Linked DNA regions of Homo sapiens: regions 2, 3 and 4 are each linked to region 1. The links are contacts of gene promoters, found by promoter capture Hi-C in blood cells and fetal thymus (Javierre and others, 2016). All regions are on one chromosome and are shown on one strand. Each heading gives the region's core, a stretch centred on a gene start or on the middle of the fragment in contact. The rest is flanking DNA. Distances are from core to core; before and after follow the strand shown.

The links. The method cuts DNA at HindIII sites, captures the fragments that hold promoters and counts their contacts. A CHiCAGO score of 5 or more calls a contact.
Region 2: a contact is called between a fragment that was not itself captured here and the fragment with the promoter of WDFY3-AS2 in region 1, in 1 of 17 cell types (erythroblasts). The highest score is 5.4, in erythroblasts.
Region 3: a fragment that was not itself captured here is called in contact with the fragment with the promoter of WDFY3-AS2 in region 1 in 1 of 17 cell types (erythroblasts); the score reaches 5.6 in erythroblasts.
Region 4: a fragment that was not itself captured here is called in contact with the fragment with the promoter of WDFY3-AS2 in region 1 in 2 of 17 cell types (neutrophils and endothelial precursors); the score reaches 6.3 in neutrophils.

The regions. Positions count from the first base shown.
Region 1 is chr4:84,964,139-84,967,164 of GRCh38, forward strand. WDFY3-AS2 (WDFY3 antisense RNA 2) reads left to right here and starts at 1,478. Exons shown (of 4, transcript NR_152775.1): 1 at 1,478-1,720. WDFY3 (WD repeat and FYVE domain containing 3) reads right to left here and starts at 2,552. Exons shown (of 68, transcript NM_014991.6): 1 at 2,071-2,552. The HindIII fragment of the contact is 8,814 bases long and covers 1-3,026 here.
Region 2 is chr4:84,546,529-84,549,554 of GRCh38, forward strand. All of the region lies in intron 3 of LOC102723338 (a long non-coding RNA gene), which reads right to left. Among named protein-coding and RNA genes, the nearest start is that of CDS1, 35 kb to the right of the region's middle. The HindIII fragment of the contact is 1,552 bases long and covers 624-2,175 here.
Region 3 is chr4:84,619,255-84,622,280 of GRCh38, forward strand. CDS1 (CDP-diacylglycerol synthase 1) reads left to right here. Exons shown (of 13, transcript NM_001263.4): 5 at 140-279. Among named protein-coding and RNA genes, the nearest start is that of CDS1, 38 kb to the left of the region's middle. The HindIII fragment of the contact is 2,723 bases long and covers 100-2,822 here.
Region 4 is chr4:84,665,935-84,668,960 of GRCh38, forward strand. No RefSeq gene overlaps it. Among named protein-coding and RNA genes, the nearest start is that of CDS1, 84 kb to the left of the region's middle. The HindIII fragment of the contact is 2,623 bases long and covers 315-2,937 here.

The sequences.
Region 1 (3,026 bases), core at 228-2,727:
TGGGAAGCCAAGGACCCTCAGAAGTATATGCATGAAATTAAGAAAGAAGCAGGGCATGGTGGCTCACATCTGTAATCCCAGCACTTAGAGAGGCTAAGGCAGGAGGATCACTTGAGGCCAGGAGTTCAAGATCAGCCTGAGCAACACAGGGAGACCCTCATCTCTACAAAAAATAGAAAAATTAGACAGGCATGGTGGCATGCACATGTAGTCCTAACTTCTTGGGAGGCTGTGGGAGAAGGATCACTCGGGCCCAGAAGTTCAAGGCTGCAGTGAACCGTGATCGTGCCACTACACCCCAGCCTGGGCAACAGGGCAAGACCCTGTCTCTAAAAAAAGAAATAAATAAATAAATTAAGAACAACTGATGTAAACTTTTAAAATTGCAAAGTTGAGCAGTGGAATTTAAGAATCTCTTCAAAGCAGAGAATCCAACTAATATTGAAATATACTGTCATTTACTTTTTCAAAAACAGATTATGCAAGAGTAGAACATTGTATTTTCTAACTTATCCCTCCTTTTTGGAGGTGATACAAATTTTTTGAAACATTTTTTTTTTTCTTTACAAAAATTGTTTTCTCTTTGTTGCCCAGGCTGGTCTCTAACTCCTGGCCTCAAGTGATCCCCCAGCCTTGGCCTCCCAAAGTGCTGGAATGACAGGCATGACCCACTGTGACCCACCAAAAGCATACATATATTTCAGATGAATCCATTTTAACTCATGGAAAGAAACTAGCAGTAGAAACCTCTTTCTAGCAGCTTGAGATAGAATGGTTCAAAGTATTAACATACTTTACTATTGCTCAAATATCATAGGAAGAGTTCTCAATTCTAATGCAATATATATTTTTAAACATAAAAACATACCAACCTAATTCCTATACTTAAGAGTCTCATGATAAAGTTTTATTTTTTTTAAAGTCGGATTTTTTTACTAGACTTATGCACTAATACAACATGTTTTTCTATAAATTAGCACATTTTTAGTTCTGTTTTATGTTATGTTTGTTACGTCGCCTGATAGTCGAAACCAGTTGTTCTCAACCTGCTACCAAATACCAACCTGGAAATATGCCACTATTTAAAAAGCCCGAAGAATAGGGTTTTGTTTTTCCTTTTTAATTGTTTGGTGTTCAAACTACATAGTAAACCAGTTGGCAACCATTACTGAACAAAAATAGTTTTTCGTATGCATGAGCACCATTTTCCAACAGAAAACACTTAACCATTTTTAAGGTACTGGAAGTCCATGCAAGGGTTCACATATGCAGTAAATATCCTTTCAATCTGGTTGTATCACATTGTTTCTGTGAAAGGAAGACCTGATATTGCAGATCTCACAATTAAATGGTAAAAATCAATGAAAAACTGCACCTGAGGCTCAAACACTAGCCAGATGGCCTTTGGTTGGAAAGGTCTCATCTGCTTCTTAAATCCCGCCGTAACTGTGAATGTTTGCGATGCCACCACATCCCCAGTACAAGAGAACTGGAGCATCTCTGGCTCCTTCCATAATCGAAGGGCTTCCAGCGTAGGGCGTAGGGGGAGAGGCCCGAAGCCCTGGAGACAGCGCCCGAGGGATGGAGGCCGCGCTCGGCTGCGCTCAGGTCCGGGTGGCTCCGGGAGCTGAGACCCCGCAGGATGCAGCGGGGGGGGGCCAGGGCCTGATCCCCTACCCCTGCGAGCCAGGGCCGCCTACGCCCCCACTGCTTCCCACAGGTAACGTCCAGCCCTCTCCTCCCCTATCCCCCGAAATATCCCGGTTCCGCTCCGCTCCGCTCGCCGCCCGTGACCCCGACCCCGACCCGTCCGCGACGGCGCCCTCCCCAGGAGGCAGCGGAGGACTAGGGCCAGGCCGCCCACCCTGGCGGCGGCGGCGGCTCCCGGCCAAGGCGGACCCTGGGGAGGACAGCAGCTGGGCCGCGGCCTGTCCCTAGGGGGAGCGGGCGCAGGGCCGCGAGTGGGCAGCGCCTCCGCCCCGCACGAACAAAGCGGCCAGGCGCGCCGGGCCGAGGCAGCACCGCCTCTCCGGGAGCGCGGGGGGCGGGGAGGATGGCGGGGGTACTCACCTGAGGGCCGGCGGAGGGCGCGGGCGGGACAGGCCCAGGAGACGGGACCGCGGCGGGCCGGGGCTCCGCGCCGAGGGCGCACGGGCTACGGGGAAGGGGCGACCGGCGCGACGTCCGCGGCGGGGCCCGGGAGCCCCGCGCCGCGGGCCGGGGGCCGGGGCCCGAGCTCGATTCTGCGGCCGCGAGGTATGGGAACCGGTCCGCCGGGCCAGGCAGCGGTGCTAGGCAGCAGGGGCAGCGACGCCGCCGCCTTTCCCTTCTCCTGCCCCCGTCCCTGCTCCGCCGCGTCCTCGTCCTCGCTGGGTCCCCGCCGCCGCCGCCTCAGCCTCGGCGCTCCTCGGGTTTCTTCTCTCCATCAAGGCCGGGCCGACCCGCAGGGACCATCCCGGAAAGTGAGGGGTTGTTGCCGTTTCCCGCAGCTGTTGGTGGCCATCTTTAATCCTCCTCCTCCTCCTGCTTTCTCCACCTCCCGCTGGCTGTCTGACTGACTGACTGGATCCTCCTCTTTCCCCTCCTGCTCCTCCTACTGAGCCGGCCGCAGAAATTGCAGCCGCTCAGCTTCTACCCCCTCCTGCCTTTCCTTCCTCTTTCCTTACTTCCTTCCCTTCCCTCGGCTTCCCGCTCTTGCCTCACTCTCAGCGGCTGCCTTCGCCCCTGTCTGCAGACAGCGCCGCTGGATGCTCCCAGCTGGACTTCAACCCCACTCCTCTCAGTCCCTCTCCCCACTGCCTTCCAGACGCGCCTCTTCCCCGCCCCGCGCCCCTCTCTCCTCTCCCACCCCTGCCCCTCTCCGCGGCGCTCACCCTCCTCAGTCCCAGTTTCTGAAAGGACTCAGCTGAGAAAGGACAACTGGGTTCCGCTTTCCTTAACCCTACACCCTTTAGCTGGATGCTGTCAGAGGCGATGGAGAAACGCAAAGGTGCGTTAATTTTACTCTAGCCAGAGTATAAAAGAAC
Region 2 (3,026 bases), core at 150-2,649, 420 kb before region 1:
AGGATATTATCCAGGAGACCTTCCCCAACCTAGCAAGACAGAACAACATTCAAATTCAGGAAATACAGAGAACACCACAAAGATACTCCTCGAGAAGAGCAACCCCAAGCCACATAATTGTCAGATTCACCAAGGTTGAAATAAAGGAAAAAATGTTAAGGGCAGCCAGAGAGAAAGGTCGGGTTACCCACAAAGGGAAGCCCATCAGACTAACAGCGGATCTCTCTGCAGAAACCCTACAAGCCAGAAGAGAGTGGGGGCCAATATTCAACATTCTTAAAGAAATAATTTTCAACCCATAATTTCACATCCAGCCAAACTAAGCTTCATAAGCGAAGGAGAAATAAAATTACTTACAAGAGGGATTATTTATAGATACCTCTCAAAGCTTGCACCAATATATTATTACATTATAAATCCGAAAAAAAGAGCAGAATTTCCCAAAAATGTTAGACCACAGGAGTTTTAGTACACAAACTCCAGAGCCATATGGCCTCCTTTGTTTAAATTCTGCCTCTAGTAACTGTGGCATCTTGGACAAGTCACTTAATCGTCCTGTGCCTTAGTTTCTGCATCTGAAAAGTTGCAATAGTGAAAGCACCTACTTTATTGGGTAGTTGTGAAGCTTCAATGGGTTAGCATGAGTGAAGTATTTGCAGCAGTACCTGCCTCATAGTAAACACCACAAAGTTTCGCTATTGTTAGAGCATTAGTTTTGTGTTGCTGTTATTCCTTATTCCAGCTGTCATTATTTTAGAGGACTACACATTAACATCTCAGTGATCTAGAACAAATGGAGCAATGTGAGAAACTGTGCTGTATCTTGATCAGTAGTTACCCAACCCAGTGAGTCTGAAAACAACAGATTGCTATCCCTCCCACGTGAGATTCTGATGCAATTGGTCTGTGACAGAGACCAGGAATTTAAGACCTGTATTTCAGAACTCTAGGAAACTTTTTCGCCTCAGCATGTGAGAACTTTAGAGGTTTAATGAAAGACAAGAGGCTAGAATCCCACAATGGCTAGTGGACTTAATCCATGGCACCACCAATTGAACAGTCTGTTAAACTACTCATTTATTGTAGTGGTTTAAGGCAGTTGCAAGGAAACATGAGTGAGGCCTTCCAAAAGGGTTAGTAGTATCTCATGGTCCAGAGCAGTGTGGGGAAGGGCAAAAAAATGGATAAGAGGTATGAGAAGAGACAATAAAATAACTTGCACCAAAGATAAATGCATTTCACTGTTTTCTAGATATTGTCAGTGTCCCTGCCACACATGTTATACCATTTTGCAATCCTAACAGCAACAAGCAATAGTGACTGTTTCTCCAAAGTCTCCCCCACAGAATGAACTATTGCACCTTTGGCTTTCTGCCTATCAGGGTGAAATATTGTATGTTAGTATAATTTTAATTTGCATGCCCTTAATTTGCATATTCTCTTTATATGTTTAGGTCTATTTGTATTTATTTTTTTGTAAACTATATGGCTTTGAATTCTCTTTGTCACAAGTGTAAGCTGTTCCATAACAGCTTATGCTATTATGGGCTATGTTCATAAACCACTCAAAGAGCTACAGAAAATAGAATGAAGTATAGTCCTTTCATGATCACTTGCCCTTCTTATTGCTAAAAGAACCAACAGAGCACCAAAGAGACCTTATAGCTGTTCCTCAACTGGAGTAGACCAGGCTATTCCCTAGTTCACCCTGGTAGCAACAGCCAGCTTTCTTCCTCAGACAAACCAAAATATCATAAGTCTCTTGTTTGGAGAAATGGGAGACTTGGTCCATATGTTTAAAGGGTCTACATCATTTGCCATTTTCTTAATCTTGGAAGGAAACATAGATTGACTTCAAAATGTTATATTTTTTCATGTAACAAAGAGAAATGTCATGATGAATCAAATGAATCAAAAGATCAATTTCACACAATTGTGGTATTTTGTAAACTGAATATGGATACTTAACATATTGTGAAAATTAAATTGCTTGTGGTACTTAAGCATTGAATTAATTAAAACTCCTCTAATTCAAAAATGTTATCTATCTGCTAAGCACAATATATTTATATAAGGTCTGAAAAAAATAGCCCTTATTTTTAATTATGTTTTGTTATTGTGTTAAAGTTACACTGGCCAACAAAATTAGAACTTAGTTATTACACTTGATGGAAAAGCTTATGTCATCCATAACTACAATTGAACCCAACATGGGAAAAGCCACTGGTTTCAGCTGATATGGAATTAATTTATACTCTGAAAAGCTTACTAACTGGAAGGTACTTGAAAGTTATTATATTGATTATAATATCTTGAATATCAAAAATAATGGATTTTTTTCCTGAGCACACACATATTTTCTTTCTCTTTTATTCCTAATGCAGGGGTAAGCAGAAAGGACACTATTATCTACCCACTCCGCGTGGGCTCTCATCCAATTAAAGGGACACAGACCCTAAAGAATGATCATACAAAACACTAAATATATCATTTCCCATTAGCACAGCACACATCTTATTCCTGGTAGTAGAAATTAGGCCATGCTAATGTGAGAGTCTAATAATGAGAGCATAAGAACTAATACACATCACTAAGATGAGTTTCAAGTTTCCAAGAATCAACCTAATTCTCTTTATAATATGCAAACTGGTAGAAGATGCTAGGAGGCTTTTGGCGAAAGAAAAAGAAAGAGTAGAGTGATGGTTAATTTTACCTGTCCACTTGGCTGAGCCACAGTACCCAGATACATGGTCAAACATTATTCTAAATGTTTCTATAAAGATTTCTTTTAGATGAGATTAACATTTACAACAGTAGACTGAGCAAAGCAGACTACCCTCCATAATGTGGGTGGGCCTCATCCAATCAGTTGAAGGCTTTAATAGACGAAGACTGAACTTGGCCGTGCACTCTGGCTCATGCCTGTGATCCCAGAACTTTGGGAGGCCAAGGCGGGCAGATCACTTGAGATCAGGAGTTCGAGACCAGCCTGGCCAACCTGGTGAAACCTCGTCTCTACTAAAAAT
Region 3 (3,026 bases), core at 211-2,710, 340 kb before region 1:
TTTGGTAAAATATATCTTGAATTGGTCTTCTGAACTTTGTTTTGATCTTTGTGTCATCAGAATGTAGAAAATAATTTTGTTGAGTTTGAGGGGAAGGAAAGCTTCAAATATAGAAAAGCTAATTGTTTTTAAATTATAGGTACTTTCTATTGTGTGTAAACTACTTTTTCTATGGAGAGACTGTAGCTGATTATTTTGCTACATTTGTTCAAAGAGAAGAACAACTTCAGTTCCTCATTCGCTACCATAGATTTATATCATTTGCCCTCTATCTGGCAGGTAAGTTAAGGAATATTCTGTATTGATATATAGTTAACATATTTTCCATGTTTATTTTTATTTCTGTTATTTTAATTAGTAATTTTTTGGTTAAATTTTATTCCAGCCTCTCTTTTTCATTGTTTCTTGTGTATAAAGCTATTTCTTTCATCATGTTCTTAAATAGCAATTACTCCCTTATAGTGGGTTTAAAAAGTGCTTGTTAAGAATCACTCCAGGCCGGGTGCGGTGGCTCACTCCTGTAATCCCAGCACTTTGGAAGGCTGAGGCAGGTGGAACATCTGAAGTCGGGAGTTTGAGACCAGCCTGACCAACATGAAGAAAGTCCGTCTCTACTAAAAATACAGAATTAGACGGGCATAGTGGCACATGCCTATAATTTCAGCTACTCAGGAGGCTGAGGCAGGAGAATCGCTTGAACCTGGGAGGCAGAGGTTGCCGTGAGCTGAGATCACGCCATTGCACTCCAGCCTGGGCAAAACTCTTATCTAAAAAAAAAAAAAAAAAAGAAAGAATCACTCCATATGTTTGAAAATTTTCTTTGCAAATTGTAGTAAAAAAACTTTTAAGTAAATAAAAATTATTAACCAAATTTAATTTATGAAAAAACTTTCACATATATATTGCTTTATTTGTCCCTAGGAAATAGAGCTTTTTCATGTAGAACTAATCAGGGTAATTAGTTGTTTTTTTTTTTTTTTTTTTTTGAGATGGAGTCTCACTCTGTCGCCCAGGGTGGAGTGCAGTGGTGTGATCTCAGCTCACTGCAAGTTCCACCTCCCAGGTCCACGCCATACTCCTGCCTCAGCCTCCCGAGTAGCTGGGACTACAGGCCCCCGCCACCACACCCGACTAATTTTTTGTATTTTTAGTAGAGACGGGGTTTCACCGTGTTAGCCAGGATGGTCTCAATCTCCTGACCTCGTGATTCGCCTGCCTCAGCCTCCCAAAGTGCTGGGATTACAGGCATGAGCCACCGCGCCTGGCCTAATTAGTTTTTTAGACATAGTTTATAATATATGCAACTGTTTATAGTATGCTATGCCACATGTTTTTGTAATTTTTAAATTAAAAATTAGATTCTTAAGATAAAGTTAGAATTTACAGATATCTTTTCTATGAAATTTTACAGATCATAAAAACCCCTAAGCAATTGATTTTTTTAAATGTGCTTTTTAAAAGCCAGATTGCTCATTTGAATTCTGGACCTACCAATTACTGGTTGAGTAAACAGTGAGATATTTGGGCTGGGCGTGGTGGCTCATGCCTGTAATCCCAGCACTTTGGGAGGCCAAGGTGCACGGATCACCTGAGTTTGGGAGTTCGAGACCAGCCTGACCAACATGGAGAAACCCCGTCTCTACTAAAAATACAGAATTAGCCGGGCATGGTGGTGCATGCTTGTAATCCCAGCTACTTAGGAGGTTGAGGCGGGAGAATCGCTTGAACCCGGGAGGCGGAGGTTGCGGTGAGCCGAGATCACACCATTGCACTCCAGCCTGGGCAACAAGAGGGAACCTCCATCTCAAAAAGCAAACAAACAAACAAAAATGAGATATTTAATTAATTTCTCTGTGCTTCAGTTTCTTTGTAAAGCACTTAGAATAGTACCTGGCACTACTTAAATTTTTTTTATTGTTATTTTCACTTTAAAAGAAGGACATGAAGTTTGTTTGTGAGTTTTCACCTTAGCTGTTACTAGTTATTGTTTTAGCTCCTAGGAGTTTCCCAATAAATGAATTTTTCTCCTGGTACAATCTTAGAAACTGGGTAATTCTTTTCCATTTCTCTTTAAAAATATACAGAGTATGTGGGGAAGCATGTCCAGTCCTGTAGAAGTATGCTATTTCATTAAATAGTTATGATGTTCTTCTTGGTGCCCCTCAGCTCCTTCAGTTCCTAGGCCTTCTAATTCTAAAAAGCCAGAAAGTGAAATACAATCTGAAATGGTAATGGGAATTTTCAGAGAACTTGTTTTTATGTAATGAGGAGGAATACATTTTCGAATAATTTTCCACCTTTTACATTCAGGTTTTTTGTTACTTTTTAAAATTTTAAATTTCATTTTATTTTCCCAGAGATTAGGTCTCCCCATGTGGCCCAGGCTGGTCTCGAACTCCTGGGCTCAAGGGATCCTTCCGCCTTGGCCTCCCAAAGTGCTGGGATTACAGGCACAAGCCACTGCACCCAGCCTTTCATTCAGGTTTATTGTTCAGTTCAGCTTTCCAAATTTGTTCCTTCATTTAAAAAAACTTTTCACTGCTATATCTATAGAAAGTACATTCCTAGAAATAGGTATTGAAAAATTTCTACTCTTTTACTGGTACTCATATGATGGTAGTTGGTCCATTTTAAATTCTGACCAGTTGGAAGGATTATGATCATGGAGAGATTATGATTGTTATCAGCTAAGAAGACCATACTAAAATTTTGGAGAGTAAAACACTTGACTCTGATTCTGTGTTTATCAAAGCACATTTGTGCATTTTCTTGGTATTCTTTGTAGAAACTTTGAGTATTTTCTCTCATTTACCAAACCAGTAAGCTTGATTTATTTTGTTAAAGGTAAGGTAGATTCTGGAATGGATTCTTTTTTTATTATGGGAGAGAAGAATGTAGTACCTTCTCAGTTTATATTTAAGGTAACAAGACTTCTGGCATTTTGAGTTTTGATGATAATACCAACAGTCAAAGAGTCTATGGTATCTTCTGTTATTGAACCCAACACTTTTGTTTCATGTGATTAT
Region 4 (3,026 bases), core at 376-2,875, 300 kb before region 1:
CTTCACTCCTGAGCCAGCGAGACCACGAACCCACCAGAAGGAAGAAACTCCGAACACATCTGAACACCAGAAGAAACAAACTCCGGACACGCCACCTTTAAGAACTGTAACACTCACTGCGAGGCTCCACGGCTTCATTCTTGAAGTCAGTGAGACCAAGAACCTACCAATTCCGGACACACCATGAAGCTGCTAGAAGAAACCATTGGGGAAACTCTCCAGGACTTTGGTCAGGGCAAGATTTTTTGGCTAAGACCTCAAAAGCACAGATAACCAAAGTAAAAATGGACAAATGGGATCACATCAAGTTAAAAAGCTTCTGTACAGCAAAGGAAATGATCAACAAGTGAAGAGGCGACCCACAGAATAGAAGAAAATATTTGCAAACCACTCATCTGACAAGGGTGGTTAATAATCAGAATATATAAGAAGCTCAAACAACTCAATAGGAAAAAAAATCTAATAATCCTATTAAAAAATGGGCAAATGATGTGAATAGGCATTTCTCAAAAGAAGACATACAAATATCAAACAGGTATATGAAAAAATGCTCAACATCATTTATCATCAGAGAAATGCAAACCAAAACCAAAAGGAGATATCCTCTCACCCCAGTTAGAATGGCTGTTATCCAAGAGACAGGCAAGAACAAATGCTGGTGAGGACAGAGAAAGGGGAACCCTCCTACACCGTTGGTGGGAATGTAAATTAGTACAACCACTATGGAGAACAGTATGGAGGTTCCTAAAAAAACTAAAAATAGAACTGCCATATGACCCAGCAATCCCACTACTAGGAATATACACAAAAGAGAGGAAGTCAGTATATCAAAGAGATATCTGTCCTCCCATGTTTACTGCAGTACTATTTGCAATAGCCAAGATTTCAACTCAACCTGAGTCTATCAACAGATGAATGGATATAGAAAATGTGGCACTTATACACAATGGAATACTATTCAGCCATAAAAATGAGATACTATCATTTGCAACAATATCGATGGAATTAGAGGACATTATGTTAAGTGAAATAAGCCAGGCAAATTAAAAAAAAAGACATTTTGCATGTGCTCACTCATTTGTGGGAGCTAAAGATTAAAACAAGCGAACTCATGGAGACAGAGTAGAATGATGGTTACGAGAGGCTACAAAGAGTAGCAGGGAGGAGGGTGGAGAGTGGAGATGTTTAGTGGGTATAAAAATATAGTCACATAGAATGAATAAGATCTAGTATTTGATAGCACAACAGGGTGACTCCAGTCAACAATTTACTGCATATTTTAAAATATCCAAAAGGGTGGAATTGGAGTGTTCCTAACAGAAAGGGACAATAAATGCTTGAGGTGGTAAACACTCTATTTACTTTGATGTGACTATTATACATTGTATGCCTGTATTGAAATATAACATGTACCTCATAAATATATACACTTATGAGCTCATAAAAATTAAAAATATTCACCCCCTTTTCAACCAATACATGTGTGAGGTTGGATTTTCTTCATGCTTCAACCAAAACAAAGTATATTCCTGATGTGACTATAGTAGGGGTGCGATAGACATACTTTTCACAAAATGATAGCTGGAGAACAAAGTTCAGGAAACGAGCCAAAACCATGCAGATTTGTCTTTTTCCATAAATCCAGTCAAAACAAAGTATCACAACAGATGGAATGTAGAAGCAAACTTGAGAATCCACCTGTCTTCTATTGAGCCAGACATTACAGAGATTTGCAAAAAGTTGTAAATTTGCCAAAAAAACCTGTTTTTTTTGTTTGGAAAAGATTTTTTTTTTTTTTTGGAGACGGAGTCTCACTCTGTCGCCCAGGCTGGAGTGCAGCGGTGTGATCTCGGCTCACTGCAAGCTCCACCTCCCAGGTTCAAGTCATTCTCCTGCCTCGGCCTCCCAGGTAGCTGGGATTACAGGCGCATGCCACCATGCCTGGCTAATTTTTTAGTAGAGACGGGGTTTCGCCACGTTGGCCAGACTCGTCTTGAACTCCTGACCTCAGGTGATTCGCCCGCCTCTGCCTCCCAAAGTGCTGGGATTACAGGTGTGAGCCACTGCACTCGGCTGTAAAAGACTTTTTATAGAAATATGTAATTATGTTAATACATCATGGTCTTATCATTGTTATTTTAAATGAGTTGACATATATATTTTAAATCTCAGTTTTAATTTCTAATACAATGACTACTGATAGATATAAACCAAATAAGCAAAAGCTGTTCGGTTCCTTGAAAATTTTTAAGGATCAAAGAGTTCTCAGACCAAAAAGTTTAAAGAAGCACTTAGACCATTCCCATCCTCACAGGCAACTACTGATGTAGGAAAACCCTATGGAGAGAGTGAGCGCTAAAACAAGAGGCTTCCTAAATTCCCAAGCTGGTTAGAACTGAAGCCTCAGTGGTAATTCCAAATCAGGGATCTCCAAAACACCATGCTATTGTGGTAGCTTGGCTTGGTGCTGTCTCTAGCAAAAGTAAAAGAAAAAAAAAGAGCTTTATAATAGGTGGGAGGAAATGAGAATATTCATAAAGCAAAGAGACTAACCAAGTGCTGGGCCAAGTCCATCAAATGGTCAAAAGTGAGGCGTGGAGGGAAAATTCTGTTGAAGATGAGAAGCAAATGGCAGACAAGGGACTCACTGAAAATCATTTGCATGTTTGTTCTTTTAAACTCTGAATTTCTGCATCTGAGAATTCTGCAGTGTCCATCCTTGACTGCAACCCGTCACCAGAACTATAAGTAATAAAGCATTAATAACATGGGAGCTGCTCTAAGGTTTCTTTTACCATTTTTTTTTTTAATTTTTTAAAGAAATTGCTGTTGTTTTAGTTCTTGGCATTCCTTCATCTTCTGCCACTCAAGTAGAGTTGCAGTAAGGTAAAATTTGTAATAAGCAAAACATACTCAAATTTGGGGCTCTGCTGTTCAAGCTTAAAATGAATTTAATATCTTTAGAAAGAGGGAAAGTGAAATCATCAAAACAGCCTAAATAAACTTAAAAACTCTTCTTTACAGAA